6 separate regions of the Homo sapiens genome follow, and all the other regions are linked to region 1. Evidence: promoter capture Hi-C in 16 types of primary human blood cells and fetal thymus (Javierre and others, 2016). All regions are on one chromosome and are shown on one strand. The core of a region is centred on a gene start or on the middle of the fragment in contact, and the rest is flanking DNA. Distances in the headings are between cores, read along the strand shown. Region 1 holds the start of SST (somatostatin). Region 2 has its middle 68 kb from the start of TPRG1. Region 3 has its middle 94 kb from the start of TPRG1-AS1. Region 4 has its middle 67 kb from the start of TPRG1-AS1. Region 5 has its middle 31 kb from the start of TPRG1-AS1. Region 6 has its middle 8.2 kb from the start of TPRG1-AS1.

The links. Contacts are between HindIII fragments. The CHiCAGO score rates a contact against its expected background, and 5 or more counts as called.
Region 2: a fragment that was not itself captured here is called in contact with the fragment with the promoter of SST in region 1 in 1 of 17 cell types (fetal thymus); the score reaches 5.7 in fetal thymus.
Region 3: a fragment that was not itself captured here is called in contact with the fragment with the promoter of SST in region 1 in 4 of 17 cell types (total B cells, endothelial precursors, monocytes and 1 more); the score reaches 7.4 in total B cells.
Region 4: a fragment that was not itself captured here is called in contact with the fragment with the promoter of SST in region 1 in 1 of 17 cell types (total B cells); the score reaches 6.9 in total B cells.
Region 5: a fragment that was not itself captured here is called in contact with the fragment with the promoter of SST in region 1 in 1 of 17 cell types (total B cells); the score reaches 5.0 in total B cells.
Region 6: a contact is called between a fragment that was not itself captured here and the fragment with the promoter of SST in region 1, in 2 of 17 cell types (total B cells and neutrophils). The highest score is 5.8, in total B cells.

What each region holds. Positions count from the first base shown.
Region 1 is chr3:187,668,146-187,673,231 of GRCh38, forward strand. It overlaps SST (somatostatin), which reads right to left and starts at 2,249. Exons shown (of 2, transcript NM_001048.4): 1 at 2,009-2,249; 2 at 767-1,132. The coding sequence starts at 2,146. The coding sequence ends at 920. The HindIII fragment of the contact is 4,322 bases long and covers 712-5,033 here.
Region 2 is chr3:189,101,479-189,106,564 of GRCh38, forward strand. It overlaps a transcript of TPRG1 not described here. Among named protein-coding and RNA genes, the nearest start is that of TPRG1, 68 kb to the right of the region's middle. The HindIII fragment of the contact is 1,962 bases long and covers 1,248-3,209 here.
Region 3 is chr3:189,039,034-189,044,119 of GRCh38, forward strand. It overlaps a transcript of TPRG1 not described here. Among named protein-coding and RNA genes, the nearest start is that of TPRG1-AS1, 94 kb to the left of the region's middle. The HindIII fragment of the contact is 751 bases long and covers 2,585-3,335 here.
Region 4 is chr3:189,011,656-189,016,741 of GRCh38, forward strand. It overlaps a transcript of TPRG1 not described here. Among named protein-coding and RNA genes, the nearest start is that of TPRG1-AS1, 67 kb to the left of the region's middle. The HindIII fragment of the contact is 910 bases long and covers 2,612-3,521 here.
Region 5 is chr3:188,976,111-188,981,196 of GRCh38, forward strand. No RefSeq gene overlaps it. Among named protein-coding and RNA genes, the nearest start is that of TPRG1-AS1, 31 kb to the left of the region's middle. The HindIII fragment of the contact is 1,661 bases long and covers 1,526-3,186 here.
Region 6 is chr3:188,953,303-188,958,388 of GRCh38, forward strand. No RefSeq gene overlaps it. Among named protein-coding and RNA genes, the nearest start is that of TPRG1-AS1, 8.2 kb to the left of the region's middle. RefSeq lists silencers at 1,238-1,532, 3,898-4,192 and an enhancer at 3,848-4,382. The HindIII fragment of the contact is 3,306 bases long and covers 611-3,916 here.

The DNA.
Region 1 (5,086 bases), core at 999-3,498:
TTGACTCCCATATTGATAGAATTAAGAGAAGACTTGAGATATCTCCTTCAGCTATTTCATAATTATGATTTTGAGCTCCAATACCTGCAATATAGATAGCACTCAGTGAGGTAAGCCAATATGCATTTCTTGCAACCTATAGTACTTCCAGAAGGAATCTTATAATAAAAGTGATATTTCTCCCTGAGAAAAAATATCTTAAAAGCTTGCTTTTAAAACAGTCATTTAGCACTGTTCAATTAGAGAGGATTGTCAAAGAAGACACAAAAGCAATGGTATTTCTCTAGATAAATGTTTACAAACTAGAAACAAATTCAGAACCTCATTTTAGCTATTTAAGTCAGATTTTTTCTCAACCACCAAATGACTTTGTTCCTTCCATCTTTTCATATGTTATGTATTTTACATATCAACCTGGTAGATAGTTGGATTTTTCAGCCTAACTATTCACACACACTCATTTCAATAGTCCAACATATAATTTAGGTGTACTTAATATGTAATTAATGTTTATGTCAGCCTCTCCCAGTAATTATCATTGAATTAAAGTTTGAATGCATAGAGTTATGTGAAATTATTTCTGTTTAAAATGACTCATGTTATAATAGTTATCATTTAAAATGTAAACTTTATTGCCACCGAGAATTTTAAATAGATGTTTGTGAACATTGGAGTACCTATCTCAAATAACTTTACTGAAACCGCCACTCAAGCTTATTATGTATTATTGAACAAAAAGATTTACTCAATAGAAACCAAATTCACATTTTTCATAATTTCACCATAATTTTATTTTGTATTTACAGTTTTCAGTTTCTAATGCAAGGGTCTCGCTGAAGACTTGGAGGATTAGGGAAGAGAGATGGGGTGTGGGGGCGAGGGATCAGAGGTCTGATATGGACAATACTAGTTAAGAAAGCTAACAGGATGTGAAAGTCTTCCAGAAGAAATTCTTGCAGCCAGCTTTGCGTTCTCGGGGTGCCATAGCCGGGTTTGAGTTAGCAGATCTCTGCAGCTCAAGCCTCATTTCATCCTGCTCAGCAGCCTGGGACAGATCTTCAGGTTCCAGGGCATCATTCTCCGTCTGGTTGGGTTCAGACAGCAGCTCTGCCAAGAAGTACTTGGCCAGTTCCTGTATAGGGCAGAAGGGATAGAAAAAGAGAGAAAGAGAAGTGGGGAGGACAATGGAAAAAATTTGAAAAGCCTAAATTAAAGAACAGATTTGGTCACACACAAAATCCAGTTTTTACAGCTGCGCATTTTTTGTCACATTTAAAATCAATCAAGGATATAAAAATAAGGATAGTTGCTATAATTACCAAGTTACACAAAAAGGCTTTAAGAGCTCAAATGTTTCTGCAACCTTTCTGTCCCTGTAGACTTAACACACACACACACACACACACACGCACAAACACACACACACACACACACACACACATAAAGACCGTTCTGGTAAGATAAAGTGTGTGCCAACAGTTTAATTCAATTTTCACATCACGAGCTACAAAGTAGAATTGTTTTACCATTTTTACCAAGTAAACTGTAGGGGAACGAGACTTCTCACAATCTCAAACATACGGCGTTCGGTCTTTAGATTGCCCCTTTGCCCTAGTCCCGACGTTTGGAAGTGAGGTACGCTAAGAGGTAGCAGCTTCAGAGGTCTGCGTTTCAGCACCTGGGTCAGCGCTTCCCAGGGTCAGCACCAGGGATAGACGCCATTGTCGCTTCGTGCCCAGACAACTACCCAGATTTTGTAATTTTCTTGAATGCCAAGTAAGAACTCACCTGAACTGTGACCGACTGCGCTTATCATGGGGGAAAAAAAGAGTTAGAAGGGGATTCTAGCCTTTGATAGTTTTCTCAAGAGCTTCGGGAGCTGAGGGACCCAGAAAAGCACCAAAACTCTTTAGAAGGACTGAGCATCCCTTACGTCCAAACCAATGGGGCAGGAGCAAGGCTTAGGGAGGGCTGGAGAATCCGGGAGACGTCGAGGGAGTCTCCTTACCTGCTTCCCCGCGGCAGCAGCCAGGGACTTCTGCAGAAACTGACGGAGTCTGGGGTCCGAGGGAGCGCCGGTGACACAGCCCAGGGCCAGGACGATGGACAGCGCAGCCAGCGCGCACTGGAGGCGGCAGGACAGCATCTCGGCGCCGCGAAAGCCGAGCTGGAGAGTGGCTGGTCAAACTCTAGGCGCGGATCAGCAGGCAGCAGCGATGGCTCCGAACCTCGCTCCTAAAGCGGCTTGTGTGCTCTCAACCGTCTCCCTCTGTTTTAAACTCTCTCTCTGACGTCAGGCTAGGAGGCGCCCCCAGATCTCACCAGCCCTTTTACGCACCATTAGCCTCGCAAAATCAATCACAGAAGACAGGGGAGGTGACAAGATCTAAAGTGGCTTACTTAAAAAAAAAAAAATACTGCACACGCACAGGCACACACAATTCCACATGCCCCACGATTTATACAATCTTTTATTTTCACTCAGTGCTATGAGCATACACATTCCACAATTTCACTCCCACACATGCACACTCAATTACACACAAACAGAGGCTCAAACACTCAGCTCTTAAAGAGCAAATACACTATCACCCTTAAATGCACACAAATGTACCCAGACAACTCCATCTGTCATCATACTCTAACATTTTAGGAAGGCCCAACAAGCAACAGGGCATGTGTATGGTAGGTGGAGATCAGAATCATTCCTCTAATAACAGATTTGAGAATGAAATATGGACAGTAGAAGGACTGAGCCCTCTTTATTTCCTCCATTATCTCATAAAAAGCCTTGAAGATGTAACGGGGCTCTAAAAGAACTTCACTTTTCTCTACAATGGGGGAGAAGGTACCTCTGGCTCACCCTCCCTCCCTCTTTCTCAGCAACTGAGACTTCTGATCTACCTGCCTTTCTATTGTGACCATATATATGTATGAGTGTGTGTATATGTACGGGAGGGAAAGAGAGAGAGAGAGATTGAAATGGACTTCATTTTGGTGCTGAGAAATTTAGAGCTGGAAGGCAATCTAAGAAATTATTCAATAAACCTCAGAATTTGAATCAGTAAGGCAGAGTAATGGTCAGTAAATTGTTCTCCTTCACATACTGCACACTTTGAGCAAAACCAGACCTCCACATTCCAAAGCCAGTGTTCCTTCTACTGAGCTCTGAGTTTTCTAACAGATTCCTGGCCGGTAAGCATAGTTTTATGTCAGGAAGCCCCAGTTTAGACATATAAGGTCTAGGAACTCCCAGAACATATGTGACCACTATTGTATATCTATATGTGGAAAGGATCAAAAGATTCTTGGTTAAATTCAGCTCTGCCTGATCTCCTAGAAACAAAGAAAGTTTAAGAAAACCTGTCCTTGAATTCTGATTGAACTCTGGTTAAATGTTTACTGTTCAGGCCAGAGTTCTGACTGCTTTTATCTAAATAGTTCCTTACTGAGGAAGGACCAGCTAATTTCCTAGCATGGACGAGATGATCCCTACAGGATCTTTAAGAGCTGTTATCTTATGAGCTTCAAAAAAGCCAATATTAGCTAAAAAGATATGCTGCATCTCTGGAAACCATGCGAAGCTCATATTAGGTATTAAAATATTCTCAGTACTTAGACCCGAACCACAGTGTTGAGAGGCAGAAGGGTTTGGGAAGTATCCTGAATGGCTTGAATAATTGTCACTATTTCTTTTTGTGCTTGTAATCCAAGGCAAAGCGGAAATGCACAGCAAGAAGTGTTAAAGTTTCCAGGTCTTGACAAGGCCAGCCAAGACTAAGCACAAAGTGGGGCATTAAAAAGTCATTCACATGTGTTGGAGTAGTCTAAGAGATCAATGAATCTGGAGCTGTGGAACCCAGTCCTAGGAAATACATGTTATATTCTCTAAATCTTGCAACTCTCTCTGGCCTCTAAGGACTCAGAGTTTAGTTCTATCACTGTGACTGTCTCTAGGTACCTCCAAATGATCTCATATCTCCTGTACCCAGGATGTGGTCTTTGGCATACCCACTGAGTAGGAAACGAGGATTTTTCCAAAGCAGGAGCCAGCCGAAGAACAAATAGCAGCTCCCCATCTTCCCCTGTGCTCTAGGATCTCTTCTGTCTCCTTCCCCAGACGCTTGCTCCCCTCCTTCCACATCCTTGTGCTCTCCCTCTACACTTTCTCCTCCTTCTTATTCCTCCTTTTCCTTAACCTTTCTGCAAATTTATGTTTCAGAATTTTCCTCACTCAATCCTTCTTTTGTCTCCTCTCTTGACTCTGTATCCTCATTCCTTTGTTTTTCTTGCTCTTCTCAATCATTTTCTGACTTTGGTTTGGGTCAGCCCGGCTCTTTCCCTGCCTTCTCACCCTGCTTAGCCAGTGCCTATCCCAGTCTCTGCCTCAAGACATCTCTCCCTCTCTTTTCTCTCCTCTTTTCTTTCTTCTTCCCTCCTCAACTGCTTCTCACCAAAAACAAACAAACAAAAAACCTCATGATGTCTATCTGTTTAAGTATCTACTTATGAATAGTAAACAGTTGCTTCCCTCATACCCTGCTGAAGAGCTGAAGCTGTAAATGAGATGACTTAAGGGTTTTGCTTTTGTTGTTTTATAACTCCTGGAGAGTTATGAGTCTGAGAACCACTTATCAGAGAAGCCAGGACAAAAAGGGACATAAATTCTCCCTTAAGCCCTCCATGGCCAGTTATAGCTTAAAGGTTGGTTTAGCATGAAGCACTTCAAACTTTCCCAACCTGAGCCTTCTGTAATCAACCCCCAGGGCATCTCTCCCAAGTCTCAAAGCTGGAAGGGTAAAGTGTTTTGTGGTTGTATTGGGGACGCTATTGCCCAGACCAACCAAACTCACTAGGAATCCTTACCCAGTCCTCTGTTGCTCACAAAACACTTTCTCATCCAACACTTCAGGGCATGCTATTCCCACCTCACAGAGGAGGAAACTGAGGTCCTGAGACCTTCAGTGCCTTACAAGAGGGCACACAGGCAGGAAGTGGCATGGTCACAGGGAGAATGTTACTTCACTTGAGAAAGCTTCATGATTCCCTGACTCAGAGATGCCAGAGATTCCTGGCCGAGCAGTCT
Region 2 (5,086 bases), core at 979-3,478, 1.4 Mb after region 1:
ATGGACCTCTGGCAACCATGGACCTCTTAATTTCTCTCCACAGTCATTGAATATTTAAAAACACAATTTGCAATTCTCCTTCTTTCCTTAAGCCCTACCATCATTCTGGATGGTCAATATTCGGGACCATCCAATTCCTTGACTTTCAGAAACTTCAGGATCTCATTTTCTAACCACAAGCCTTGATCATTGTGTATCTCACCCCCTTCATCTGTTCTCTGATATCTTTTAGAGTCCTTGGGCTGTCTGCACCAAACTTCTCCAACCTAACATTTTTGTTTGTTTTCTTTTCAAATTAATAATAAAAATAATAATAAATAAATAATAATAAAAATTAATAATAAAAATAATAGCAAATATTTCTTGAGTACTCAGTACTTGGTGTGCTGCATGATCAGATTTTTACGTACATCTTTTTAGTTGCTATATACAACCCTATGAGTTAGGTGCTGCTATTGTTTTATTTTAATTTTTTTGCAGATGAGAAAACTAACAAATAGAGGTACTGAGTTGGGATTTGAGCTCAAATATTCTGGCTCTAGAGAGGATATTACTACCATGTCTCTCCTCTCTCTATCTCTTAAAAGTCTTTGTGTTGGGGGTTTCAACCTTGGTCATCCTTTTCATTCCACACACTTTTTCCAAATGTCCTGCTCATGTGCTCCTATATTCAGTTAACACCCAATTCTGTAATTTTAGTGTTATTGTAGAAAACATTCCCCTGGCCTTTCTTTGGCCTCAGTTTCCTCATCTGTGAAATGAGAGTAATGATAGTTTCTACCTCCTAGGGCTGTATGTAGTAAGCAAATGTATATAAAAAGCTGACTTTTTATCTATCTCCAGAGCCAGCTTCTTATTCACCATCTACATTTCCACTCAAATGGCCCACAGGCATCTCACACACAACATGTACCAAGCTGCATTCACCATGCCTCACATGTTCCAATATTGGTGGCTTTTCCCTCTTATCCATCCAATTTCCTTGTGAATAGTTTTCTTCTTCTTTCTCAGCCCTACATGTTACCTGTCTCTAAGTTGTGTTCCATCAGTTCTAGTATGTAAATTGACTCTATTGCCTAAATTCAGGCCCTCATCCCTTCACGTCTGAATAATTGCCATGTTTTCCTACCTGGAATCCCTCCCTGTTCCTACTTTTTATAGCTTTAAGAGATAATTAATTTTTTTAAAAAAGAAGGAATCAGACGATGTTCATTCTGTTTGTTTTAAATTCTTCCATGGTTCCCCAAAGCTTTTAGGATAAAGTTCAAATTTCTTTGTTTATTAATTTTTTTAAAACTTTATCTTGCTTTTGTGCTTCATCATGTTAATATTTCTTGCCATTTTTCCTAACACTTATTTTGCCCAATCATGGGGAACTTCTGGTAGGTCCTCAAACGCCAGGGTCTACCAAAGCTCATTGCACTTGTAAATGCTGATTTTTCTGTTCATCTCTCCTTGCTCTGGCTAACTTCCTCTTAAACTTGTCTCAGCTCAGGTGTCATCTTTTGCAGAAATATATTTTTCTTGATGCCTGTGGTTTATTTTGGTGCTTCGTCTGTAATTCCAGAGCACCTGGTACCTATTTCTGCCAATCAATTAACTCTCCACATCATGATTCTCAACTTTACTTTGCCTCCAAATACCTAGAGCCAGGGTGGCAAACAGCAGCCCAGTGACCAAAGTCATCCTGCCACTTGTTTTTGTAAATAAAGTTTTATTGGAACAGAAGCATGCCCATTCAGTGTGCTCTATGGCTGATTTTGGATAAAAAGAGCAGAGTTTAATTGTTGTAACAGAGTCTATGTATCCCCCAAAGCTAAAATATTTACTATTTGACCTTTTGCAGAAAATGTTTGCAGTCCCCTTTCATCTATTACTGTGCATCACTATTACAAAATTCTTAGCCAGAGATGCCAGACCCTGAGGGAGAAAGTGGATCAAGATCTTGCAGAGGAGGAGTGTCAAGGGAAAACTAGAGTTGGATGATTCAGATACATACCCTAGGGGATCATGTTCCTTCCCTACACCACGGACAATCATTCCATGTGTCCTTATGAAATATTTCTTATATATCATGAGACAGAGACTGTATGTTTTTTAATCTTTTGGCTTACATGCCTAACATGGTGACAGACTATTAGAAGTAAAAATAAGCCAGAAAACAACCCCCAAAAGCCAAGCTCACACCAAAAGAATTTTTTGAAGGATACTGGGATATAATCAGGGGGTCTAAGAAAGAGGTGAACACCCAGTTCTTGAAAAGACACAGCAATGATGTGGAGTAATGATTGTTATCAGGATCCAGCCTCTGTCTTGTGTCTCTGCTGTTTCTCATCATGTCAGCTTCATCTTTCCCTTTCACCGTGGACTTCCTCTAGCTGGCAAAAATCACGGCCCATCACAGTTCCTGAGTTTTTCATTTTATAGTTTTCAGTCATTGATGAGCCTTTATCCTGACTTTGTCTTAGTCCCATATTCCAAAATACTAAGTCAGTTTACCATTGATGTGGTCAAGGAAGAGGGGTTAGGTGAGAAAACAGAAATGTTAGTGATACTTATGGATAGACTAAAGATAGAGGATGAGCCAAGAACGAAAGAGGTACTGTTCCCAGAATAAGGGAGAGCTACATAGACAAGGCAGTAGGTGTCCCCATGGTAGCTCCTGGTAGATGCCCCCCAACAGTAGCACTTAGGAGGTGCTTAACTGATGTATGTTGACTCAATAAATAAAGAAAGAAATTAACCTCTTTGAGCCTCTTCTGTGAGATGAGAATAGCATCTACCTCACAGGCTTGTACTGACGATAGAGCACTAACCACAGTGCTTGACAGGCGTAGATATTCAGTAAATGCAACCTAAATATCCTAGCACTCATCTGGGTTGGAATTGCAAAGGGAAATTAAGGGAGAATTTATTACAGCAGATTATCTTTTAAAATTCAATCAGCATGATTATCCAATAAAATTTTAATCAAACTCTATGTCCCATCTTGTCTTCTAATCAGACTTAAGTCAACATAAATATTAGCCCAGGACTCTCACTTGGCTCAGTCTGAGTTGGCGCATTCCCTAAGGGAAACTGTAGGGTGTCAGAAGAAAGCCCCGATTTGTACCTATAAGAGACTATATTTACTTGTTCAGAAGACGAACAGAAACTGGAGATTAAGAACCCTCGGTCTACTAGATCAATGTCTACTGTTTCACGAGTTAAGCTTTAGCTTCCCTGTTAACCAGACTAGCTCACACAACATATACCCACCTGAACTATTAATGTGTGCATTTTCTTGGATGTGCCTCCTTCCTTTGGACAGTATTGCTCTTTGTCTCATATTTAAAATGCCTTCCTCTGCCCTGTTACCTTCATCTGCATAACTCCTCAACCTTCAGGGTCTCCTCTGGCTCCATAATTTTACTGACCCATCCCCATCAGCTTTGAAAAATCATAATTCAAGTTTTTCCAAGACCTGATACAGAACACTTTGGCACAAGCCAGGTACCTGGGTCCTTCTACTCTAATTCCCTAACCAAACTCTTTCTTCTAAACTCATACTGAGAAATGCTAAAGATTTCCAATAAAATTTCTTTTCATGGCTCAGTGGTTTGTAGAAACCGTTTATAGTTTACAAAGCTCTCTACAACTCTCTGATGTTGGTGTTATTAAGGACATCCCACTCCTGATCAGAATTTCTAATTGATCGATAATTTGGGGAGATGAGACTTGATTTTACTGAGAATAGTGTCCTAAATCTTTCGTTAAGGAGGCTTTTTTCAATGGTATGTCTCAGTGCTAGAAGAAACTCTAAAGCTTACTCATGATGTTGGTCCTGAAAAGCACCTGAATCTTCTCTATATGGCCCTCAGATGGAATGTAATCTGTACTGAAATTTATGGCTTCTGAATTGACTTCCAGAGGAATATCCATTTCTCCACCCTACCATATTAGACATCTCCCACTATTAGCTCTTTTTCATGCATTGAGGCACACTTTGCCCCCCTGCTAACTTACCATAATGAGCCTCTCTCATATCCATTAGAGAGAATCTAAGTTCCTCTTCTACATATGAGTTTGAGTAGGTATGTGGTAGGTATGTGGGGTCAAGATAGCATCTCCCTCATTTTCCCTTTTCTATCCCCAACAACCTTGGGAACTTCAACTGCTGGTTTTGAGTCTACTTTGCTTTTTCTCAGGATATATTCTGGTCTACCAGTTTTACTGTTTTAAATTCTTAAATTTAGCAAGCTGATTTTCTTTGAAGCCTACGGAATAGAGGGTGTCAAAAATGTCCTTCCGACATAATAATTACTAAGTATATAGAGATTAGAAGCTTACTTTGGATATAGAGACTTTCTAAATTGGAAACATTTTTTGAAGACAGGAAATTCAGCCTAAGTAAAACCTAGTGTGTCCACTGGGGCATGTTGGGTTTGGGGAGGGAAAGTATCAGGAAAAATAGCTAATGCATGCTGGGGTTAATACCTAGGCGATGGGTTGACAGGTGCAGCAAACCACCATGATACATGTTTACCTATGTAACAAACCTGCACATCCTGCACATGTACCTAGGAACTGAAAATTCAACAACAACAACAACAAAAACACTGAAAAACAAAGACACTGTTCTACCAGAAACAAAACAAAACAAAACAAAAAAACTAGTGTGTCGATATTCACAATTGTTTTGGTTTATTCTTAAAAGCAGTATGAGATCATTATGATGACCACATAAATGAAAAACAGTAACAGTCATTCTGGCCTTCTAGTACCTTGAAGATGTCCAGTTACTTCAAAGCCTTTGAATGTGCTTTCCCCCTTCCCCCACCCTGGGAATATTGTCTGCAACCCCAACCCTCCAAATTTTGGTCTGCCAACTTTTCATACTTCAAATCTCTGAAAAGCTTTTTCTTAATTATCTTGTTGCCCCCGACCCCAGTCCTAATCTAAATTGGGTCACCCATCATAATTTTGTAACCTGCCTTTAAATTTTTCTTATGGCAAATATACAAATTTTAATGGTATATTTAGTGATATGATTATTTAGTGTCTGTCTTTTCCATTAGACTATTAATTTTGGGAAGCAATTCTGTCT
Region 3 (5,086 bases), core at 1,710-4,209, 1.4 Mb after region 1:
GCCATTCTGGAGGGCAATCTGTTGGAAGTATATGTATATATATACCCCTTGACCCAGAAATTCCCGGAGGGAAACCTATGCAGGGTCACATGTGACATATACAAGGATATAGCTATCTAGATGAAATAGCATTACAGTTTGGGTAGGGAGGTGTTGCTTTATGGAAATGTTCAGAAAGAAATGGAGCACAGTGAACCCAGAGCTGGCTCTCTGTAGGCTTATATTCTTTGCTGAATCTTCAGTAAGAAGAAAGCAAAGGTTACTTCCATTCCACCCCAGTCCTAGGCATTGTCAAGGCCCAGGTACACCCTTGTTCCTGGCACTCTCCAAACTTTCAGGGCCCTGTTGTGAAATTCTCTGGGAAGTTAAATACATGAATGATGTTAGAAATTGAAAGGAGCATTTTAAAAAATGAGGGTTACCACAAGATGAGGGCAACGTTTAACTGAAAGGGGAAAATGATACAATATAGGTTTCAGTGATAGCTAAACAACAGAAATCTGTGACATCACTGAGTGCAGACACTTAGAGGCCCCAACAGAAATTTGGAGACCTCTTTAGATCTTTCCTTCTGTGTAGTGAAAAGAAAGCAATTTCATAAGAGAACATGACAGTGAACATTTCTATTGAAAACCACAAAGTTTTTGCAATTTTAGCAGAAGTCTAGTTTTGAAGATCAAATCATTGAGAGAGAATGTACACTTGTTTTTTTGTCATTTACTGAAAGCCAGAAAAATAGGTGAAGCTTGTCTTAATTCAGATGGCACCTTGGAAAGGAGATCATTCTGATATCTTCTTCTCACTCCTATTTTTTTTTTTGACTTTTCAAAGAGCAACAGAACATTGGAGCTAGAAGTAGCCTCTAAAGTTAAGTAACACAGCTCCAGTCTGCTATGGAATTCTTCCTACAAACATGCATTTCCTTATATGTAAACCTCAAGAATCTACTGGAACCAGACCATTGATCCATTACTTTAAGATACATTACTCCTTCCTTAAGGGAGTTATGTAAGCTCTTTCTATAGAGGCTATGCCTGGAAAGCTGCCTCCCTGACACCCTAGGGCCAGGTTATAACTCTTGGACCTAGCTTGCCTCCACTAAACTCCAAATTTGGGGGTTACATTTTTTATAAGTCATGTTTTCTCTTGAATGGCCTCATTGTGGTAGATGAAAGAAACGAATTTTAATGAAAGTGAATTAATCTTAATGAAAATTAAATAGACTTTTATGACTCCTTAGACATTTAGGAAAACAGCGAAATATTGAACTTCTATCCCTTCTTTAGCCATCCTCCTAGTTATTTACAGGTATTCCCAGAGGTATACATGATGGACAAATAAGCCTCCTCAGTTTTGGTTGCCAAAATGTTTGTTTCCCTGGTAGTTTCATCACTGTTGCTGCTGGTGGTATTCCCCATGGATGGTGCCAAGAGAGTTATACCAAGGGTTCTGTCTTCTCTTGCTCTCAAAATACCACCTCAGGCCATTGCTTGGCTTCCTGCTGTGGCTAAGGCTCTTGGCATCTCTCAGTGGGAGCACAATGCCATTCTGTCCACCATTAAGAGTACTGCTGTTCTTGCCCCCTGATACTGGTGCTACTTCTGCTCATATCTTCTGCAATGGAAAAAACCCCTTTCTCCCAACCTTGTACCATTGTCTGTTACACTGGTCCCACAGTGGTATGATCCCTTACTCTCAAAGTCTTAAAGAAACGATGGGTAAAACATTCCATCCAGGTTGTTTTCTTTCCCCATGATTTGGGCACAAGTCCCTAGGGACTGAGCCACGAGATGAGTCAAAGGGTGGTCCTCAGTGTCATTCTTCCTCTATTGCTCAGAGGCACTTTTCAGGCATCTCTGCCTGGGCTTTGGCAGCTATTCCTTAGATTGACTTACTTCCCAAGAGGCTCCTCAAGCCTGTTCAGCCCTGGTCGCCCCTCCACAGTCTTCTGGTCTTTCCCTGACTGTTTCCATTTTAGGCTGAGAGCACCTGCATCTTGAACCAGGGTGCCTTTGCACTTTAGCCTGGATAACATCACAGCTCTAGATTTGGTGAAAGGAAACAGAATCAGGGAACCCCTGAGCCACAGCCATTTTAGGATGTCGCTAGGCTCCTCTACTTCCTCTTTCCTTATTGCTCCCAATTCTTTGCTTCCTTCTTGCTAAGTTGGAAGGAGCCCACCTCCCCCTAGAAAGAGGATCATTTCATAAGCTGGATTCTCATGTAGCATGGTCATTGCATTCCTTAAACTCACCTCTAGGTCCCAAATGATAAACTAAAAGCTGCTTGAGTTATTCAAGTAACAGGAAAAATATAGTATTGCAACTAAGAATCTGAACTTTGAAATCAGAGAGTCTCGGATTCAAATCCTGGCTCTTCCCTTTCTGGCTGTATGCTTTGGGCAGATTATTTAACAACTCTGAGCCTCTTTAGCACGTACTTCACAGGACTATTGTGATTAAGTAAGCACTCAATGTGTGGGAGATATTATTGTTTCTAATTAGGGAGCAAAGCAAAACTGCACATGGGGCATGGGCAAGGCACTCATGGCTTCCCTTCTCACCCCATGTGGGGAGGTGGAACAAGCTTCCTAGTCTTAGCCCTTTACTCAGATGCCAGCAATTTTCTGCCATGTTACCTGGTGATGGGGCCCTCTGGTGGCAGGAGAGAATGTGATTTCTTTTTGAGAGACCAGCTTGCCCTTAGATCTGCTTTCAAGTGGAGGCGAAGGGTTGGGGAAAACCCCAGCAGATTCTGAAACTGCCATGCACAAAGGCCTCAGACTCAGATGCTGAGCTGTCCCTGTTGCTGCAGAACTGTTTATTTCCTTAGGATGTTGAACGTAAAATATACAACTAGACACTGCCTTCTCTTGCTCTCAAAATACCATCTCAGGCCATTGCTTGAGCCTCACCCAATAATTTGGATTCTGATATGAAAATCAACTTCCCTACCTCCAGCCTTAGGATGCTTCTGTATTGTTAATGCCAATGTTAGCAGCTTGTTTCTGAATCATTGGGGAGCTCTGTAAACACATGTTGATGGGAATTGACCTATCTTCTTAAGGTTAGGTCCTTAAGAAGCCCTAAACATTGAACAATGAAAATATCCTCAATTTTAGAAATTAAAAAAAAATCTGAAATTATAAAACAAGTATTAAAAAGTCAAAGAAAGATAAACTTTTAGCTATAATGACAACCTTAACGTCCTTTTTTGAACTATCAAGAATATATTTCTTTTCCAATTTCAGCTTTTTTGGTTAATTTTATTTTTCTAGTATCTTACCTTGTGTTTTATCCCTCTTTGGGTCATCCTGATCTGCTAGGTGTATAATAAGCTTTATGTCAGAGGTGAGTAAAATATTGATAACATTTTCTATCTATAAGATGTTTAATAATTTATAGGTTACTTAGGTATCTGTTATGTTTCAAAAATCTCATGCCAATCCTGGTTAATTATGGATTTTCAAGAAATACTTTTTGAATGAAGAGGAAGGAGGAAGACGTTGTATCTTCAGATGAACAAATAGAGTCCTGGAGAGGTTGTGTGGATCTCTGGGCTAGCAGGGGTCAGAGTTGGCTCACCAACCCAGGTCTTCTCACTGCTTCTTTATATTGTATCTCAGCTGCTTGAGGCATACTTGATGATCCCTCATGAAAATGAACTCAATCATGCTTGAAGAAAAGTATGCTACACAATGGAAAGCTAAATAGTTTCTTTAGGCATTGAGATAAATCATCATATAACAACATGTAATCTGCTAAGGCTGGGAGGAACCTTATTTTATGGATGAGGAAACTGAGGTCCATAGGAAGGAAGAGCTACAAGCAGGAGGTTGCGTGGTGGCTCACCAGAAGAGCTGTCAAGGAAACCCTGGTCTCAACCCAAAGACCTCCATAAAGGAGACAGCTGAAACAAGCTAGAGTAAGCCCGGTGCCTGTCACCGTTTGTAACCAGAGACAATGACCACACTGTTCACCCATTGTTTATTCTCCAAATATTTTGTAAAGCAAAGGAGAACACTATGGGATCTGCTAACTATAAGGCCTTTCTACTTTCACCTTGTTTCACAAGGTCACAATTAAATGGGCCCTGTTCAAAAAATAGAAGGAAAACTATATATAGATTGAATCCAAACCGAAAGATGAATCTAAACCACAAAATATTGGCTTGAACATAGGGCCTCATGGTGCCTGAGTTTTAATAAACATAAAATTCTTTCTTTGGGGAAACAACATGATGGGGATACAGATTAAAGAGTACGGTTTAAAGGGTATTGCAAAGACCCTGAGGCTTGGAATGAGGAGTGTCAGATTGTGGAGATGCTTTCAACACTTCCACTGACTTTCTCTGTGACCTCGTGCAAGATGTTTCTTTCTTAGCCCTCAGTTTTTCCATTCACACAAATGACAAGGTTGGACTGCATATCATGCAGGCCCTTTATGGGATCTGACCTTCTGTGACATTAAGTGTTCTCTTTATTTTTCATATTTTCACCCCTGATGGAAGAACAATTTGTTGACTTACTAAGAAGCAGACTGTCATAAAAGCCAATCGTCTGCTTAACTCCATTACAATTTTTTGGGCGACAACTCCCTTCAGAGACTGGCTTGTATATATTGACACCACCTCAATTTAGGCACTGCGATGGCACTGGAATTCTATGACACCCACTCTTGAATTGAAGGAGGGCACGGTGACATTGGCATTTCTGCTTGGGGCTAGTGGTTGAATCACTGTTTAAAACTAGTAGTTGGGTTGTGATCCAAAGCTTATTGGAGCCAAAAGTTTCCACAAGGATGTCATTAAGAAAAGTGACTTTTATTCCCAGAGAAGAGAGCTGGGTCTCTCGAGACGATGAGGTCTATGAATAACGAGTGCCATCTACAGCATTTGAGCAATACCCAGTAGTGAGACTAAGACAAATAACTTCATTTTTTTCATTTCTTATTTTTCCATCTAATGATCCAGTATCAATGTTTTGCTGGTGTCTGTGTCTGCTACAATAGTAGGTACAAGGTAGATATTCAGCAAATGCTTGATAAATAAATGAATATATAAAAATTACTCTCTCAAATTAGTTCAT
Region 4 (5,086 bases), core at 1,817-4,316, 1.3 Mb after region 1:
TGAATCAATCATCTCCCACTGGGTCCATCCCACAACATGTGGGAATTATGGGAGCTATGAGATGAGATTTGGGTGGGACAAAGAGCCAAACCATATCACTATCCATGAGCATGGGATGTTTTTCCATCTGTTTGTGTCCTCTCTGATTTCTTTGAACAGTTATTTGTAGTTCTCCTTGAAGAGGTCCTTCACTTTCCTTGTTAGCTGTATTCCTAGTTATTTTATTCTTTTTGTAGCAATTGTGAATGGGAGTTCATTTGTGATTTGGCTCTCAGCTTGCCTATTGTTTGTGTATAGGAATACTAGTGATTTTTGCACAGTGATTTTGTATCCTGAGACTTTGTTGAAGTTGTTTATCAGTTTGAAAAGCCTTTGGGCTGAGATGACGGGGTTTTCTAGAGGTAGGATCATGTCATCTGCAAACAAAGTTAATTTAGCTTCCTCTCTTCCTATTTAAATATGCTTTATTTCTTTCTCTTGGCTGATTGCCTTGGCTGGAACTTCCAATACTATGTTGAATAGGAGTAGTGAGACAGAGCAACCTTGTGTTGTGCTGGTTTTCAAGAAGAATGCTTCTAGCATTTGCCCATTCACTGTGATATTGGTTGTGGGTTTGTCATATATGACTTTTATTATTTTGAGGTATGTTCCATTAAAACCTAGTTTATTGAGAGTTTTTAAATGAAGGAATGTTGAATTTTATCTAAGGCCTTTTCTGCATTTGAGATAATCATGTGGTTTTTGTCTTTAAGTATGTGATGAATTATGTTTATTAATTTGTGTATGCTGAACGAGTCTTGCATCCCAGGGATGAAGCCTACTTGATAATGGTGGATAAGCTTTTTGATGTGCTGCTGGATTTGGTTTTGCCAGTATTTTGTTTTCAATTTTTCAGAATAGTTTCAGTAGGAATGATACCAGCTCTTCTTTGTACATCTGGTATAATTCAGCTGTGAATCTGCCTGGTCCTGGACTTTTTTGGTTGGTAGGCTATTTATTACTGACTCAATTTCAGAACTCATTATTGGTCTATTCATGGATTCAATTTCTTTCTGGTTCATTCTTGGGAGGGTGTATATGTCCAGCAATTTATTCATTTCTTCTAAATTTTCTATTTTATGTGCATAGGGATGTTTATAATATCCTCTGATAGTTGTTTTTATTTCTCTAGGGTCAGTGGTAATATCCCCCTTATCATTTCTGATTGTGTTTTTTGAATCTTCTCTCTTTTCTTCTTTGTTAGTCTAGCTAGTGGTCTATTTTATTAATTTTTCAAAAAATCAGTTCCTGGATTTGTTGATTTCTTGAAGGATTTTTCATATCTCTACGAAGGAGATAGAAATATCTTTTGTATTTCTATCTCCTTCAGTTCAGCTCTAATCTTGGTTATTTCTTGCCTTCTGCTAGCTTTGGGGTTTGTTTGCTCTTGATTCACTAGTTCTTTTAGTGATGTTAGGTTGTTATCTTGAGATCTTTCTAGCTTTTTGATGTGGGCATTTGGTGATATAAATTTCCCTCTTTTCACTGCTTTAGCTGAGTCTCAGAGATTCTGGTACTTTGTATCTTTGTTCTCACTGGTTTCAAAAAACCTTCTTGATTTCTACCTTAATTTCATTATTTACCCTAAATTCATTCAGGAGCAGGTTGTTCAATTTCCATGTAGTTGTATGGTTTTAAGTAAATTTCTTAATCTTGAGTTCTAATTTGATTGTGCTGTGGTCCAGGAGACTGCTTGTTATGATTTCAGTTCTTTTGCATTTGCTGAGGAGTGTTTCACTTTCAATTATGTGATCATTTTTTTGAGTAAGTGCTATGTGGCAATAAGAAGAATGTATATTCTGTTGTTTTGGGTCAAAGGGTTCTGTAGATATCTATCAGGTCCACCTGATCCAGAGCTGAGTTCAGGTCCTGAAAATCCCTGTTATTTTCTGTCTTGATGATTTGTTTAATATTGTCAGTAGGGTGTTAAAGTATCCCACTATTATTGTGTGGGATTTGAGGTCTCTTTGAAGTTTTCTAAGAACTTGCTTTATGAATCTGGGTGCTCCTGTATTTGGTGCATAAATATTTAGGGTAGTTAGCTCTATGCTACATATATATGAACCCTCTACCCTTATATATTGCCCTTCTTTGTCTTTTTTTGACTTTTGTTGATTTAAAGCCTGTTTTGTCAGAAACTAAGATTGCAACCCCTGCTTTTTAATTTTTTCATCCATCCCTTAATTTTGAGCCTGTGATGTTCTTACCTGTGAAATGGATCTCTTGAAGATAGCATTGCAGTGGGTGTTGGTTCTTTATCCAGCTTGCCACTCTGTCTTTTCATTGGGGGCCCATGTCGTCTTCTTACATTTAAGGTTAGTATTGTTATGTGTGAATTTGATCCTGCCATCATGATGCTAGCTGGTTACTTTGCAGACTTGTTTATGTGGTTGTTTCATAGTGTCACTAGTCTGTGTACTTCAGTGTGTTTTTGTAATGGCTGCTAATAGTTTTTCTTGTCCATATTTAGTGTTTCTTTCAGAAGGTGTTGTAAGGCAGGTCTAGTGGTAACGAATTGCCTCAGGATTTGCTTGTCTGAACAGGATCTTATTTATTTCTCCTTCACTTATGAAGCTTAGTTTGGCTGGATATGAAATTCTTGGTTGATATTTTTTTCCTTTAAGAAAGTTGAATACTGGCCCCCTATCTCTTCTGGCTTGTAGGGTTTCCACTGAAAGGCCTACTGTTAGTCTACTGGGCCCCCACTGTAGGTGACTTGGCCTTTCTCTCTCACTGCCCTTAACATTTTTTCTTTTATTTCGACCTTGGTGAATGTGATGATGATGTGTCTTGGGGTAATCTTCTCATGGACTGTTATAATGTATGATATGGTTTGGCTCTGTGTTCCCACCTAAATCTCATTTTGAATTAGAATTCCCACATTTCATGGGAGGGGCCTGGTGCAAGGTGACTGAATCATGGGGGAAATCTTCTCCCTTGCTGTTCTCATGATTGTGAGGGAGTTCTCACAAGATATTGTCATTTGAAAGTGTGTGGCACTTCCCCCTTTGCTTTCTCTTTCTCCTGCTCCACCAGGGGAAGATGTGCCTTGTTTCCCCTTTGCCTTCCACTATGATTGTAGGTTCCCTGAGGAGCCCCAGTCATGCTTCCTGTTAAGCCTGGAGAACTGAGTCAACTAAATGCCTTTTCTTCATAAATTACTCAGTCTCAGGTAGTACTTTATAGCAGTGAGAAAATGGAATACTACAGAAAATTGGTACCAGGATAGTGGGGCACTGTTATAAAGATACTTGAAAATGTAAAAAGAACTTTGGAACTGGTTAGCAAGTAGAGGTTGGAACAGTTTGGAGGGGTCAGAAGAAGATAAGATGACGCAGGAAAGTTTGGAACTTCCTTGAGATTTTTTTGAATAATTTTGACCAAAATGGTAATAGTGATATGGACAAGAAAGTCCAGGGCGAGGTGTTCTCAGGTGGAGATGAAGAACTTATTGGGAACTGGAGTAAATGTTATTCTTGCTAAGCTTTAGGAAAAGACTGGTGGCATTGTGCCCCTGTTCTAGGGATCTGTGGAACTTTGAACCTGGGAGAGATGATTTAGTGTATCTGGTGGAAGAAATTTCTAAGCAGTAAAACATTCAAGATGTGGCATGGCTGCTTGTAACTGTGTACAGTTATATGCATTCACAAAGAGATGGTCTGAAATTGAAACTTATGTTTAAAAGGTAAACAGAGCATCAAAGTTTGGAAAATTTGCAGCCCAACTATATGGTAGAGAAGAAAAAAACATTTTCTGGAAGAAATTAAAGCTGCTTGCAGAAATTTGCATAAGTAAAGAGGAGCCAAATGTTAATAGCCAAGACAATGGGGAAAATGCCCCCAGTGCATGTCACAGACCTTCGTGACAGCCCCTCCCATCCCAGTCCTGGAGGCTTAAGAGGAAAAAATGGTTTCATAAGCCAGGCCCAGGGCCCTGCTGCTCTTTGCAGCCTTGAGACATGGTGCCCTGTGTCCCAGCTACTCCTGCTTAAGCTGTGGCTAAAAGGGGCCAGGATACAGCTTGGGCCATTGCTTCAGAGGGTGCAAGCCCCCCAGACCTTGGTGGTTTCTATGTGGTGTTGGGCCTGCAGGCACACAGAAGGTAAGAGTTGAGGTTTGGGAACCTCCACTTAGATTTCAGAGGATTTATGGAAACAAATGGATGTCTAGGCAGAAGTTTACTGTAGGCACAGATCCCTCATGGAGAGCCTGTACAAAGTCAGTACAGAGGGGAAATGTGGAGTTGGAGCCCCCACACAGAGTCTCCACTAAGACACTGCCTAGTGGAGCTGTGAGAAGAAGGCTACCATCCTCCAGACCCCAGAATGGTAGATCCAATAACAGCTTGCACCGTGTACCTGGAAAAGCTGCAGGCACTCAATAACAGCCTGTGAAAGCAGCCAAGAGGCCTGTACCCTGTAGAGCCACAGGGGTCGAGATGCCCAAGGCCTTGGGAACCCATCCCTGGCATCAATGTGGCCTTGATGTGAGACATGGAGTCAAAGGAGATTATTTTGGAACTTTAAGATTTAAAGACTGCCCTGCTGGGTTTCAGAATTGCTTGGGGCCTGTAGCACCTTTATTTTGGCCAATTCCTTCCATTTGGAATGGGAGTATTTACCCAATAATTGTGCTGCCATTGTATTTTGGAAGTAACTAAGTATGTCCCTTCTGTATATGAGCCTCTTTTTGATTTTATAGGCTCATAAACAGAAGGGACATACTTTGTCTCAGATAAGACTTTGGATTGTGGACTTTTGAGTTAATGTTGGAATCAGTTAAGACATTGGGGGACTGTTGGAAAGGCATGACTGGTTTTGAAATGTGAGAAGGACATGAGATTCGGGAGGGGCTGGGATGGAGTGATATGATTGTGCTCTGTGACCCCACCCAAATCTCATTTCAAATTTTAATCCTCATGTGTTTGGTGAGGGACCAGGTGGGAGGTAATTGAATTATGGGGGTGGACTCCTATCTTGCTATTCTTGTAATAGTGAGTGAGTTCTCATGAGATCTGGTTTTATGAAAGTGTGTGGCACTTCCCCCTT
Region 5 (5,086 bases), core at 1,106-3,605, 1.3 Mb after region 1:
TTCAAGTTTGTTCTTGTATTATTCCATCTGGTGGCTCCCCAAACCGCTTTCTTTTTTTACTCTCCTTGTAAATATTTACATAAGAAGGTTCTTGCAAAGGCAGGATCCTATATTGGTGGATTGGCGCTAAGCAGAGTCTTGACGTGTTTTATTCCTTTTACGAACAATTCGGTTAAGTGGATTCTCTCCCAGCTCATTAAAAAATAGCCTTTTATTTTAATAACACCATCAGAAACTAAATAGCATCAGAGGGGAAAATAAGTTTGCAATGTGCAGCCTCAAGTGGCAATCTCTGAGCCACTGTTAGTGGTTGATGCAAGAATTGGTGATTGTAGTTAGTGGCTAAAATGCAGCATGCATTTAAAGGACTCATCTCCCTAGGCAGAACAAGGATCTGTGGTGTTTTCTGGGACAGCTGAATGCATAAGAGATCAGATAACTGGATCAGGAGATCAAGACTTGGTTCTCAAACTTCAGACTTCAGCTCATCTTGCCTTCCTCCCTGAGGCACTATCTTTGTTTGCTTTCTCTTCGCCGCCCTCCCTCTTGGACAAGTCCATCCTTGCCCACAGCTTTAACTGATACTTCTTTAGAGGGAGCAGTCAAACCTCTCTTTTTAGCTTTAACTTCTCGTTTGAGCCCCAGTTTCTGCATTCCCAGTTTTTCTGGACATTTTAAACAAGATTGCCATCGCAACCCAAACCTGACAGGACCAAAGCCAACCTCAACTCCTTCTGAACCTGGTCCCACTCTTGCTCTTGTGAGTGCTACCTTCCAGCCCCACCCAAACAAGCTTAATCCCAAAATCTGTCACCTTTGCCCCAACCCTGCATCCCCAAATCTAAAGCAGTTGCCAAATGATGTTGATTTTAATACTGCATGAAGACTTGCATTGGTACATCTGTTTCTGTCCTCGCTGTCATTGTCCTAGGCTTCCTTAAGCTCTATACATTTATTCATCCATGTGCTCATTCATTCAACATACGTGTTGATTGGATGGTTCCTGTATACTAGATATCTAGCAGGTGCTGGAAATATAGAAGTGAACAAGACAAAAAGAGAATTTGAACCTGTTCTCACGGGGGAAGATGCACATCAAAAAATTTATGATAAAACTTGTTAAATTTGACCATATAGGAAAAATAAGAGAAGTCACAGGCTTATCTGTCTTCTGATACTACCGAGCCCTGCAGCATGATGTTGCCATGTTCATTTGTCTGACTATGTCACTTTTCTGCTCAAATGCCATCAGTGCCCCTCAATGTTACCTATTTATTTCACAGCATTTATTTACTCATTCATTCATCATTCGTATGTTCTTTTGTTCTCCTTCACACCATGCTCTTCATTGTCTCCATGCTCTTGCTAATGTGGTTCCTTCTGCCCACAGCACTCTCTTTATACCTCACTGCACCCAGCCACTCGTCACTTAGTTAATTGAAGAGACACCTTGATTAATGCAGATGTCAACACTTCAAGGAAGACATCTCCACTCTTCACTGAAGCCTTTCATAACATGCTCACAAGCTTTTTCTCCATCCTTTCATCCCATCCATTAGGTACCCGTTCACTCTTCATACTTCCAGGACAGCATGATAGCATCTGATACCAATTAGTCTGTTCTGTGACACTAACCTTGACATAAACTTAGTGTTTGTAGAAAGTCTTTGAGTTAAAGCCTCCGTTTTCCCTAACACACAGTTTGATTTGACTGACCCCTCTGGCCTTTGTCACTCTGGCGTGGGGGTAGAAACTGTCTCCTTTAAGATACAGTCTACAAGAGCGTCTATTCACTGGGTTTCTTGGTTATTACTGGATTGTGTTAGATTTAAAACATGCGGAAGAGACAGTTTTGGTATGACCATTTATTATGTGACCTGGAATAAAAGGGAAGTGCATTATAAAGTTGGGCAGCAGCATCTTCATAAGAAGTATTCTTGTTTTTCCTAGGAATTTCTTAAAAAAGAGTAGAAGAGGTAGTATTGTTCTGTGTTTCTTTCCTTTTTTCTTCATCCAATTTACAGATGGGAAGAGGAGGTTTAGAGAATTGCAATTTGTACATGTTACAGTGGATTAGAAGAGATGATAGGGTTATTACAAATCAGGCATTATGAAAATAAATTTTGATATTCGATCACTTGCATTTTCATGGCTTCAGTGAAATTTGATTAGTGGTGTTTTGTTCAGTTAGTCTACTGTGTTTTGACTTCTTCATATTTAATGCCCTCTCACCTGACCGTTTCACCTGACCAGCATTCCTGAGAATGCAGAGTGTCAGCTGGGGAGACACAGCGCAGCATCAGAGAGCTGCTGAAAGCTGCTGAGCCACACCTGGCTGCAGCTGGGTTGAAGATGGGTCTGAGTTCTGAGAAAGACTGCATACTCTCCTATTGGAAAGACAGACTTCATTTCGGGAAATATTCAATAAAAAGTTTTGAGACACAGAGTCCCATTCATGGTGAGAGAGATTGAAGGTAGCTGTTTTCCCTCTTAAGGCTTGGCGCAGTCTGTAAGGATACTATTTAATGTAATCAAGAACTGATTATTTTGTTGATCATGTTTCAAAACCCGTGCCCTTTAAACAAGTTCCCAGAGTAAATTGAATGCAATTGTGGGAAGTTTAACTTTTTAAAGGAAATCTTGTTGTATTTTGAGATTGAGGGAGAGGATGATGGGAGAGGGTGACTGGAAACCTGCCCAAGGACTGAAAAATCTAAGAGGATGGGAGGAAGGATGAACAGAGAAGAGAAAGACTAGAATTCTGGGTCAGAAACTCTTACCGAATGAGTCATCCCACAGGACAAATAAAACCTCACTCATCACCCTGTCTTCCCTCTCTGTAGCGAGAGAAGCAAACACTGGGGCCCTGGAAAAACATCAGCAACTTCTTGTAGCATCTGTAGGTGGGGAAGGTTTCCAAGCCACCGAGAGGGCTGTGAACGCAGTTACTGGGGCTCCAGTTTTTCCTCAGCCAAGTAGGAAGAACCTCTAAATTGACCTTGGAAAAACATACTCAATGAAGGAAAAAAATATGGTAAGCTCTCCCTGTGTATTTGTATTAGAGATTTTTTTTTAAAGAAACAAATACATTGCTTTCCAGTTTTCCATGAAAAGAGTTTGAATACTCTCATATTCACAGTGGTAAAATCCTTAGAGTGGGATTTGAAAGGCTGTAGACAGGACTTAAGCTTTGCCCCTCTTTAAGAAGCACAAGGTCATCCACATAGTACAACTGTATTCGTATTAAAAAGCCTAAGGGGGAAAGCATTCTTGCCGCTCCTTTCAGCAAAGATTGAAATTAGCATTTTTATGAAGAGCATAAACTCTCTGCGTATCAAAGATGCACTTTTATTACTCTGAAACTGGCTCGAGTAAGCATCCTGCAAACATTTGGCTCTTTCTCTTCCAGGAGGAGGCCAATTAAAACACAGTCTGTCTAACTGCCAGTCCCTACCCACTCTTCAGTGGGGCAACAACAATACCGAGATGGCAGCGTTGGCGCCTGCAAAAGTGGCTTTTCAGTTATTGGGCACCTGGAGGGAAAATAATGATTTCTTGGCACTCATCACAAAAACAAATTTAAAAAAAACAACAACCAAAAAACAAAAAAAAGAAGGCTTATTTTACTTGCCCCTCCTCCCTCTGATTATGAATTGCGTGGTTCGGACAGACAATTTAACTTGCCACCAATTGTGTCAGCTGTTCTCCCTGTTCTCCCACCTCTGGAGCAATGAGGCTCAAGGGAGAGGGGCAGTTGACTGTGTCTTGGTGGCGCCAGCATGCTTTTACAAGCTGCAATTACCCTCTGGCAGGCAGCCTGTGCCGGTGGGCTGCTCTCTGGAGCAGAGACCCACAGCTGTGCAGTCCCCCTGTGGCTACCAACAAACCTGCCATTTAATGTTGTTTCTTCAGGTATTGTCTCATCTGACCAGTGGTTTTTCTATTACAAGAGGCCTCTCTATCATGGCATGAAGCAGAAAGTGGAAAGGACAGTGTCTGGCTGCTTTTGGAGCCAGAGGCAACAGGCCAGGATTTACCTCACTCGTTTAGATTTACTCATCAGCCAAATGAGTCTTGCTAAAATATTTAGTCTCCATATACGCAATAAACAATTTTGAACTGAATTCAGATTCAAGACTCAAATTCCCTTTCAATGGAAATGACACCAAGCACAGGCACATAAATGATGCTCAGTAAACATTTCTTGAGTGAAAGAATTAATATGCCAAGACCTAGGGAGGAAATCTTTTTACAGTGTACCTCTGTCCATTTCTCTCCACTTTTCTGATGTGATGAAATTCAATCTTGTGATTGCTCTACTAATATTACCTCTGACAATGAATCTTCCTGATTTCAAAGAGTGGACTGACTTCCTATGAAAACAGTTAATGCAATATTTGGAGGTTTAACAGTTTTGATGCTTTTGGCTACAAATAAAAGAGTACCTATCAAAACTAACTCAGACAATGGAGATTTATTAATAAAACTTACAAATGTGATGTCCAGAGATTAGCAGTTCTGGGAGTAGATCAGTAACACATCGATGTCAAGGGTTAAGATCAATGTCCCTGGCATTTTCTTTTTCTTTTCTTCATGGTTTCAAGATGGCTGCTGCAGTTCTGAACCACATGTCTTCATATAACAATGATTAAAACACAACAGAAGATACTTTGATTTTAAAGACCTATAAGGTTTCCTCTTATATTGTGTTTCTCATAACCGGGTCACATGCAAAGTAAAAACAAATTGCCATGAGTGACTAGACCCCTTGTGTTAGTTTGGTAGTATAGTCATGGCAGTATCACAGACAGGGTGGCTCAAACAACAGATTTTTTTTTCTCATGATTCTGGATGCTAGAAATGCAAGATCAAGATGTCAGTAAGATTGGCTTCTTCTGAGACCTCTCTTCTTTGGTTTTAGATGACTGCTTTCTCCCTGTGTCTTCACATGGTCTTTCCTCTATGTGTTTCTGTGTCCTAATTTCTTCTTATAAGGACACCTGTCATAATGGATGGTGGCCCACCCTAACAACTTCATTTTAACTTGATTACCTTTTTAAAGACCTTATCTCCAATGATAGGCACA
Region 6 (5,086 bases), core at 1,014-3,513, 1.3 Mb after region 1:
TCTTCTAGTGCTCGCTTTCTATTTGCCCCAAAGTCAGTCTACACTGAGTGACTGATCAAACTCCACTTCCACCTTGGATTCCATAAACCAGCTAAGAAATAGATACTCTCTTCCTCACCCTTAGCCCCACACCACACCCCCACTGCTCATGACTGGAGGGCATATGTCGATTGGAGGGAAGGATGCGACTGGAAGTCTCTGAGAAGAGCTCTTCTCTTCCCTCAGGGACATGTCTATTCACTGAAGAATGACATAATAAATGGTCAGCTACCTTTAACCTGCCTTCCATGGATTCCCTGAGGAAAAATTAAATTACTGTTCTAATATGCTACAAACGCACAGACTCAAAATGTAAAATATGAAATGAATCTGACAGGTTATGTGGTTTAGCTCCCACACTTGATGGACAGAGAAACTGAGGCTTGAAGAGACGCACCCAAGGAACCTGGCCAAAGACACAGAGACAAGAAGTCTTGGAGCTAGGGCTACAGCCCAGATCTCCACTGCTCCTTGGTGCTCTTTGTTTTTTTTTTTTTTTTTTTTGCTACAAGTTGGAGCTCAGTCCCTGGGTTGCAATGGATAAATCTTTTGCTAGGCAACCCAGTTGCTAAGCTTTGCTCACATCATTCTTGAGCTCAAAAACCTTTATGGATTTCAGCTATTCATTCCTAGTATAGTCATCCTTTGGTATCCTTGAGGGATTGGTTCCAGAATCTTCTGAGGATACCAAAATCCAGGGATGCTCAAGTATCTCATATAAAATGGTGTAGTATTTGCATATAACCTACGCACATCCTCCTATATGCTTTAAATCATTGCTAGATTACTCATAATAATACAGTGTAAATGCTATGTCAATCGTTGTTATACTGTACTATTTAGGGAAGAATGACAAGAAAATCTCTACATGTTCAGTACAAATGCAACCTTCCATTTATTTTTCCAAATATTTTTCATCGACACTTGGTTGAATTCATGGATGTGGAACCTATGGATACAAAGGGCCAATTGTACAAGATTCATTTTGTGTCATTATTTGGGCTCTGCCCATGATATTGCTACTACTTTTTAAAAAAATTTATGAATTCCCTTCTGGAAGACGAGGTAGAAAGTAGACAGGCGATTTTGCTAAGCAGTTTTGACATCTCTCACACACACCTATTTTGGCTAACCTTTTCCTGATTTCTCAGTCCTCAGTAGCTCCTCTGTGCACGTGCCCAGATGTCACATTTCTTAACTTATTTTCTATTTCTTGAGGATAATTTAGTCACTTTTTTCTCTACAGTAAGCAGAGAAGGTAGAGCTGGAAAATGGGGTCTTCATCAGAGTTTAACTAGACTATGAATAGAATTCTGTAAGGCACGGACCAATGAGCTGTCTTTTAGGTCAGTCCAGAAGGACTCAGATTCACACCAAACTTAAGTGGCTGGTGAATGAGGCTCAGATTGTCCTCCCAGTTTCCCACTGCCATCCCCAATCCTGCTCCAAGAGCGCCCTCTGCTGGAATGGAGCAGGAGCCAACATCCTCAGCCATCTTGGAAGTGGGGCCAACTGGAACTCTGAAAGGATGAAAAGTACCTCTGTTTAAATACAAGCTCCAAATAAGACAGATCAAGTCTACAATGTCTTCTTGACTTTTATTTCTCATTCCTTCTATTTCCATTTCTTTGACAACTTTTCTTAAGAGGATCACGATGTGGTGAAAAAATAGAATTTAAAGAGGGGAAATGTAATCCAGTGAAATGGGCATAAAACTAAGAATTCTGCCTTCTTTGAGAGGTTTAATTGCTGGGTTACAAAGAGTAATTTCTTGGAATAACTCAGTTTCTAGTCTCAGATTGTAATTACTCCTTCAGTTAGAAACCTTCTTCCATTCATTGCCTGCTAAATTAAGTCAACATTCTTTACTTAGCTTTCAAGGTATATTTGTATATGAATTTACAAATTCATAATATGTTATTTAGTTTGTACTTCATTTATCAAAGCTAATAGTATCTTTACTTTAAAAAAATTTTACTCTGATCTACTTTTTAGAAATTGAAAAGATATTGAAAACTTTAAAAGTACATTTGAATACCAAAGTCATATGTTTCACATTAAAAATCATGCTCAGCACTTAATCTGCTTATAATTTTGAACAAGTGGAAGACCCTGATTAAATAATTAGCTTTTGAACAGAAACAATAATTGATAGGTTGAATTCTATCTTTAGCACTGATGTTAGTCCTAACTTGTTGTTTAGGATTGAGACAAGGTAAAGCGACATAAAAGATTTGGGGGAGTTGATATAACCTTTAAAGTGTCATTTAGTCAAAGGAAGAAACAGTAGCTAGGAATATACCTATTGAATAAACATAGCAATATGGTAGATTCTAGTCCTAGACCCCTGTTTTACAGCTAGAATTATGCCAAAAAGTTGAAAAGTAAAGCTGGATGAAACCTTAGAGAAGACTCCGCCATCTTATAACTCAGATGGTGAAATGAGACCCAGAAAGAATAGTCTTCCCAAAGGCTCACGGTCAGTTATTATAGGAGCCTCATTTGGAATTTGAGTCATCCAATTCTCAATCCACTGTTCTTACCACTACCCAACACTACCTTTGTTTAACTGTCTTTCTTGCATAAAAAGGGACTTATAGGTGAGAGATTCTATAGTGCCATTGGGAGCTGCTGCCTGAATCTCCGTGTAATTTCAAAGAGTTTCCTAACTCAGACCCTGTCCCATTTCACTGTATCCTTAAGAGGCTGAGAAACGGGGCATTCAGATTCTTTCCCCATGCTGACTCTTCATTCTGTTTACACATGGGCCGGCCAGATGCTAGAGAAAAAAAAACAAACATTTGCAGCTGTTATCAGGGGTAGGATAGAGCACATGAGGTTCCCAAGTTTTGATCCAACACATCAGAACACACTTGATTTTTACTCTGGCTTGGAGTTTACTGCCTTCAGCTTCTTCTACAAAGCCTGAATGTTGCCATTTCATGTCAAAACCTGCACTGAGAGATGCCGATGGCTTCTTGAGCTAACTTCAGCCCATCACCGCAGTGGTCTAGATGACCAAGGAAGTGACTGCTTCATTACAGCTTGAGGGGACCCTCTTTCTTCATCCCCCACTTTCACTTTTTTTTTTTTTTTAAATGAAAAGGCCGATGGTTCTCCCAAGTAGCCAGAGGCCAGCAGGAGCACTAAGTAAGAGACAGCAAGAAGTGTTCTTAGTGAGAACAATGTGGACTTTGGAGTTATGTAAAACCCAATTTTAATCCTGGCCCAGCCATTGACTGGCAGTTTGATTTTGAGTTATTTAAGTTGGAACCTTATTTTTCTTGCTTATTTATTGAACTATTAATTGAAAAAGTGATTCTAGTCCTAGACCCCTATTTGACAGCTAGAGAAATGAGACATGAACTGATACATGCTCAGATAAATACATTTCTTACTCAGAGGATAATAGTCAATGATTAATAGTTTCCACTGAGACATCACAAATAAGAAATAGATTGAAATTACATTTGAAGGATCTAGGTTAGATATCAAAAACTTCCTTGGAAGGGAGCATCATGAAACCTCTATTTCTTAGAAATCTTTAAGAATATAATAGTCACACATGTTGAATGAGTTTAAATGAAGCATTACTTACCAGGATAGACGACCTCTCTAGTTTTTCCCCAGTTAAAAAATCCAAGACTTGGGTTCCTTCTTTCAAGAGGAGTAATGTAAAAAGTCTGACCCCTAGTGGTCATCGTCTCTGCATTGGACCTAAGGGAAAAAGGCCAAAAAGAATGATAACAACCAGACTTTGTTTTGGAATTAAAAACGAACCTTAGAAATGTGAGAGTCAAATTGTCTAATTCTAAAACAAGGGAACTTAGACCAAATGACTACAAATATTTCCCCAACACCAGCGACTCTGGAGTAAAGCTTGTTATGGAACTCAGGACCTTTTGCTGGTGCTCTGGGTTCAAGATCCAATCGCTTCATCTTCCAGAGTCTCCCACCTGGAATCAGCCTCTTGGTGACATAGAAACAGCAGGTATATGCTGATTCGACTTTCAGGGCACAGGATTCAGTCCGCATTCTTTCCTTTTCTTTCGTGATGAGGAGCACTTAATTGTTCAGTAGATGTAACTCTCTCTCAGGTAACCAACCTAAGTTCTCCATTCCCTTTGTACATTCTGACAGATGCTCATAGCATGCTAAGTGCTCATGGGTGGTAGGCTGCTTTCTAGTTTCCTGATGTCTGTCTTCTCCCATTAATCAAATCTGATGCATACAAAGAACCAGCTGATTTTTTCCTCAAACCCGTTTATGCTACTTTTATTAGTAAATGCAATTATATAATTTAAATATTATGCAAATAGATGAAATATAAGTATAAAAATAAAGAGACTGTGTCCATAAAAATTAAATTGATTGCTTTGGAAAGGCTCAAGAGGGAAGAATTGCTGAAAAAATGATCTAAAATTAGTTTGTGGATGAGATAACTGTAGAAGAATAACACAAAGATTAAAATCCAGAATAATTGTGCAAGTTTCTAAGGTTTTTATCTGCTACAAAGAACAAAAGAAAAGAAAACAAAAACAAAAATACCTGAAACTTCAACTAATAGAGGATGCATGATGGGAGTGATTTATTCAAGAAAAATGAGATGGAGCTTCACAAATGGAAAATGTGCACTTAAAGAGAGGCCTTGGCTCTACCTACTGGCAAGTGAAAGTCTTAAGTTAAAATATATGTATTTATATGATTCCTAGCTTTAGCCAAAATTTCTGATTAGCTGACACTGAACTGTAATAGGTGAAAGTATTTCTTTAGTATTAAGATTCAGATATCAGAGTGAGATCCAGGAAAACTGGTTTACTTAATATCTCCTGAGTGCTAATCTCCTGAGGATTTGGTCTTTCAACAATTCCTGTAAGATCCGTTTTTATTTCCATAAGTCTCCTTTTTGCAGGCACTTTCCGCAGATCCTTTTCCCCTTGACAGTAAGTAAGCTTTGTCTCTGAACTAGGCCCCAAGAATTCAGCTTTCAAACCCTCTGTTAAATTAATGTTTGTTCACTTTAGCAATTCAGTAATAGTCACTCAGG